Linked DNA regions of Homo sapiens: region 2 is linked to region 1. Evidence: promoter capture Hi-C in human tissues and cell types (Jung and others, 2019). All regions are on one chromosome and are shown on one strand. Each heading gives the region's core, a stretch centred on a gene start or on the middle of the fragment in contact. The rest is flanking DNA. Distances are from core to core; before and after follow the strand shown.

What was found. The method cuts DNA at HindIII sites, captures the fragments that hold promoters and counts their contacts. A contact is called where the count stands out against the background at its distance.
Region 2: a fragment that was not itself captured here is called in contact with the fragment with the promoter of AKR1A1 in region 1 in 1 of the 25 tissues and cell types used here (pancreas).

The regions. Positions count from the first base shown.
Region 1 is chr1:45,549,552-45,552,266 of GRCh38, forward strand. AKR1A1 (aldo-keto reductase family 1 member A1) reads left to right here and starts at 1,275. Exons shown (of 9, transcript NM_153326.3): 1 at 1,275-1,604. RefSeq lists enhancers at 958-1,017, 1,068-1,297, 1,528-1,747. The HindIII fragment of the contact is 19,939 bases long and covers 1-2,715 here.
Region 2 is chr1:43,847,503-43,850,481 of GRCh38, forward strand. All of the region lies in intron 5 of ST3GAL3 (ST3 beta-galactoside alpha-2,3-sialyltransferase 3), which reads left to right. It also overlaps the pseudogene SHMT1P1. Among named protein-coding and RNA genes, the nearest start is that of MIR6079, 10 kb to the left of the region's middle. The HindIII fragment of the contact is 5,766 bases long and covers 1-2,979 here.

The DNA.
Region 1 (2,715 bases), core at 25-2,524:
GTTGGGGAGACAGTGGGGGATAACGGGGGTGGGGAAATGGGAAGAGTTGCTCTCAGGGAGTAAAGGTGTGGGGAAAAGCAGAGCCAAACCGAGATAACCCTGTGTCTTGCCCATCCCTGCCAAGGAAAACACATACATGCAAGACACCTCTCCACTCAAACAGCACAGACTATTTCAAATCGCAGATGTGTCATTTAATTAATACCTGTGTGACTTTGGGAAAATTATAAATAGCCTTAACCTTGCTGAGTCTGTCCAATCTGTAAAATGGATTATGAATACTTTCCTCACAGGCTTATGGTGTGCTGGTAATATCTTCCTCTGGATGGCAGTTACATTGCAAAAAATAATTTAAAAAAAAGAACTGTATACATTTAAGATTTATACATTTTCTTTCTTCCTGGATGTAGAATAGGAAAAAAAGAAAAAGAAAAAAAAAAAGACTGGTGTATTTTCTGTATATATGCTATACTACGATTTTTAAAAAGGCTTGTACGAAATAAAAGAATATTCCTTTTCGGCCAGGCGCAGTGGCTCACTCCTGTAATCCCAGCACTTTGGGAGTCCAGGGCGGGTGGATCACGAGGTCAGGAGTTCAAGACCAGCCTGGCCAAGATGGCGAAACCCCGTCTCTACTAAAAAATACAAAAAAATTAGCCAGGCGTGGTATCGGGCGCCTGTAATCCCAGCTACTCGGGAGGCTGAGGCAGAGAATTGCTTGAACCAGGGAGGCGGAGGTTGCAGTGAGCCAAGATCGCGCCACTGCACTCCAGCCTGGGCGAGAGCGAGATTCCGTCTCAAAAAAAAAAAAAAAAAAGGAATATTCCTTTTCCAGGATTATTATGAAGATTCAATAAAACCATGTTTATTAAGTGTTAAGCACAGTGCCTGGCACATAACGTGCTGGGCGGGGTCTATGGTCCAGACAGGGGGACCAGGCACTTTCCAGCGCCTGGATCTGCAGACGCGAGGTCTTCTGTATTCTGGCCAATCTTGGTGTTGCAGCTGCTCTCTGGGCCTCAGTTTGCTTGAACTAAATGTAACGGGGCCAACTTAGGTGAACTTTGGGAATCCAGCCAACCTGACTTTAGGGAGAGTATGGAGCCACGGATGGCATTGTGAATCCGGAGGGCCGACACCAGAAGAACCTGCAACGTGGCATCTGCTACCTTACTTCCCCCGGAAAAGCGCCTGCGGCGGCGCCTAGGCGCGCGGTGCAATGTGGGCCAGCAAAAGGCGAGGCTGGCCCCGCCCCTTGCACCGCCCACGTGGCCAGCGCCACCTGCCTCATTGTGCCCAGGAGTTCTCCAAACCCGCGCTGCGGAGTGAGTGACCAAGTTCCGGCCAGTTCGACCTCGAGGATCCAGAGGTGGAGACGGTACTACCTCCCAGCTCTGTTTTCCATCCCCTTCAGGTCCTTCCTCGGGAGGCGGCGAAGGCGGTCCACCCTGCGCGTGATCCTTTATGCCCGGCCCCTGCCCCTCCCTCCGGGTGGAACTTCCCCCTCACCGCCAGACTTAAGCTGAGGATCGTTGGATCTCTGGCGGGGTGCAGAACTGAGCCCAGGCCACAGTACCCTATTCACGCTCTGTGCTTGTGCCAAGGTGAGTTTCTCTTGCTGCTGGCCTATCTTTCTCCCGGAGGAGATGGCCTCGATTCTTTACTACTGAAATGTAAGCCCCTGGGGTTGAGTGGAGAGCGCAGAGCACTGGAGGGGACGAGACTTGGTTTCGGATTTGAGCTCTTCTTTTTCTCTGTATGATCTCTTGCTAACTTCCCAGTTTCTCTGAACCTGTTTCCTCAGCAATAAAATGAGGTCCTACATTAGAACTGTAGCAAGAATTGAGATAAAGCTTTGAAGGCGCACAGCGCATACTAGGTGATCTGCAAGTTTTAATTGCCATCTTTTTGTTTGCTCACCTATGTGCTTTTTCCAGCTGCTCCGGCTTTCTTATGCAGGTGCAGGGATAGTTCTCAGAAGTGGGGAGAAGTGGGGATAATTCTCTTACTTAGACACCTGCTTTGGGTCTGAGAAAGTCTGACATGTTATTCTGTTGCCCCAGAACTCTGTTAAAGTAAGACACAGATCTGAACCTTCACTGGATGAGGCTACTGTTAATTAACTCTTCCCCTTCAGATCGTTCATACTCAGGGCTGCAGGCCTGTTACTTTTCCAAGATCTGTTTCCTTATCTTTAATACAGGAGCAATCTCAGTATGATTCTATCTGGTCCACTGGGATTTTTTGCCGAGTATAGTAAAGTGCTTTGATATTCTCCAAGAGGATTCTTTTCAGGTTTTCCAACAGGTAAAGGAAGAAGGTGACAGAGGCAGCGACTTCCTCAAATGTCCTTCCAGCTGGCCAAACTCAACCTGTCAAGATCTCTCCCCCATAAGCTGTGTGTGTGTGGTGTGTGTATTGTGTACATTGTATGTATGTATGTATGTATGTATGTATGTATGTATGTATGGGACAGGTACTCTAGGAGTGAGGGGTTCAGGCAGATGACAGGCTCAGACCTCAAGGAGTAGCCAGGTTTGTGGGGGAAATTTATATATAAACAGAAAAATGTAGTGATGTGCACATGCTATCAGTACATGGAAGTAGCCATCCATTTATTTATTTATTTATTTTCTTTTTAGAGATGGATGGGGGTCTCTCGGTCTTTTGCCCATGCTGGAGTGTAGTGGTGGAATCCTTGCTCAGTGCAGCCTC
Region 2 (2,979 bases), core at 245-2,744, 1.7 Mb before region 1:
ACATTATGCTAAATGAAATGAGCCAGTTACACAAAAACAAATATTGTGTGATTCCATTCATATGAGGTGCCTAGAGAAATCAAATTCATAGAGACAGAAAGTAGAATATGGTTTCCATGTGCTGGGAGGAGGGAGGAATGGAGAGTTATTGTTTAATGCATATAGAGTTTCAGTTTTGCAAGATGAAAAACAGCTCTGGATATTGGTTACACAACAGTGTGAAAATAACTAATACTACTGAATTGTACACTTAAAAATGGTTAGGATGGTACATTTTATGTTAGTGTATTTTACTACAATTCAAACATTTTAAAAGTTTTTTTAATGAGAGGGAAAATTCTTTTATATTTACTCACAAAGTTTTCTTTACTGTTGGTCTTTCTTCCTTTGTGTAAATACGTATTTCCATATGGTATCCTCTTTCTTCTGCCTGAAGAACTTCATTTAACATTTCTTGTGGGGCAGGTCCGATGACTGCGAAGTCTTTCAGTGTTGGATTGTCTGAACAAGTCTTTATTTTACCTTCAATTTTGAAAGATTTTTAAAAATGTTTTGGCTAGGTATACACTTCTAGGTTGACAGTACCCTGTTCTCACTTCCACCACCCCTCCCCCACTACCTTAAATATGTAACTCTATTTACTTGCTTCATTCCTGACAAAACGTCTTCTGTCATTCTTACCTATATTCCTTTGTATGTAGTATTTCATTTTCTTCTGGCTGCCTGTTGAGATTTTTCTCTTTACCAGTGGTTTCCAGCAATTTTATTATGGTGTCCCTTGTTGTGGTTTTCTTTTTTTTTTTTTTTTTTTTTTGGCGTAGGGATGGAGTTTTGCTCTTGTTGCCCAGGCTGGAGTGCAATGGCGCGATCTTGGTTCACTGCAACCTCCGCCTCCTGGGTTCAAGCAATTCTCCTACCTCAGCCTCCCGAGTAGCTGGGATTACAAGCATGCGCCACCACACCTGGCTAATTTTGTATTTTTAGTAGAGACGGGGTTTCACCATGTTAGCCAGGCTGGTCTCAAACTCCTGACCTCAGGTGATCCACATGCCTCGGCCTCCCAAAGTGCTAGGATTACAGGTGTGAGCCACCGTGCCTGGCTGTGGTTTTCTTTATATTTATTTGGCTTGGAGTTTATTTAACTCCTCAGATCTGTAGGTTCATAGTTTTCTTGTTTGTTTGTTTTGTTTTATTCTTTGTAATCACATTTGGACCTTGTTTACATATTTTCTCAAATATTTTTTCTGCCTCATCTCCTTTCCCAGGATTCAAATTACATGGATGCTATATTATTTGTCCCACAGGTCACTGATGCTCTGGGTTTTTGTTTTTCAATCTTCTTTCTCTCTCTGCTTCATTTTGGATAGTTTATATTGCTATGTCTTCACATTTATAGCTTTTTCTTTTGTAGCATTTAATCACTTGTTAATCCCACCATGTATATTATTATGTCAAATACTGTGTTTTTAATCTCTGTAGGTTCCATTTAGGTCTTCTTATATCTTCTGTTTCATTTCTTATTATGTTTGTGTTTTCTTCTGCCTTCTTGAACATTTTGAGAGTTATTGGCAAATTGCCCTTCATAGCAGTTTTGGGATTTATGTACCCACATAGTAGTTGATGATGGTGCCATCCTTTGTTTTCTTCTGTTTTACAGTTTTGTTATTTATATTTAAATTATTAATTCATCTATTTTTGGTTTTGTGTGTTAGGAATGAGGTTGAGATCTAGGGTTCTTTTTTTTTTTTCATATGGGTAGCTAGTATTTCTTGGTATTTTGATCACAAAATACTTAAGTAAATTCAAGGTTTTGATTTCTGCAGCATCAATATTTTGACAGAAAAGGACTTGATAAAGCTCTTTTTGATGTGTTAATTTTGAGATGATCTACAAAAACTATTAAATCTTACCTTTTTTAACTTTTTAAGAAATTAGTTTGAGTTCAAATATTTTTGAAATATAAAAATTGTATTTTTAAAGCTATAATTCTTATAGACATTCAGTGGTTAAAAATTTGATTGTGCTTATTAAAAATGGTCGTATATGTTTTGCACTTCAGCTATGTGAAAATAAAGTTTCTTTGGGAAGGTGACATTTGGTTTCCTGATTATGGGAGGGAGTTGGTTATCTCAGGTGGAGCAGGAAAGCCTGGTTGATTCTCACACCAGTATGGGACTGGGATTTCCCAGGATGGAGGGAGGAGACCCTTTCTACACCATACTTTGAACTACTGACAGCAAAACCCTCCCACCATACTGAGTGCACCTTGTGTACACTTGGCTAATGTACACTTCTGATTTACAGCACACAGCAGAAGCTTCAGAGGCGAATTCAGCTCCCCTTTGGCATGCTGCTGGGTAACAAGATAGTAAGAGTGGCAGTGTGTACAAGCTGTGGACAGGAGCATTTCCTCTCTGCTGCAGCAAGGCAAAGGAAAGCCTAGGGAGAGTAAAACACTAGAATCTTTCTAATAGCTCTGCCCTACCCCATGGTCTAAATGATTATGGCCAAGTGGCTACACAGTATTTTTATTTTTCTAGAATAATTATATCCAGCTGTGAGAAAGCCAGGTTCAAATTAAAAACCTGTAATAACCTGTCCCAGAATTAATAACAATGAAACTTAAACAAATTTTGATTTGTGAAGAAAACATGAAAAAAGTCCAAAAGAAAACCCCTCAAAGGAAACAAGTGTCAGTGGGTCCCTTGTGGGGCAGCTTGTACATCTCTCAAGGGGATCCTCCAGCAGGTAGCTTCCTCTGTGGCACCAGGTGCATCCAGGGTGGGCCGGCTCCTTTAGAAGTCAGGCAGGCCAGGCAGAGGGAAGAGAGTGAAGCTCTCAACCTCCTCCTGGAGAGCCTGCACACACCCCTGGTATTTATGCCCTGCTAGTCTCTCCTTGAACTCTTTCAGGGTGGCTCTGATGCCAGCGTTGCTCTGGATCTGCAGGGTTAGCTCTATCCCTCTGTGGATAAAGTGG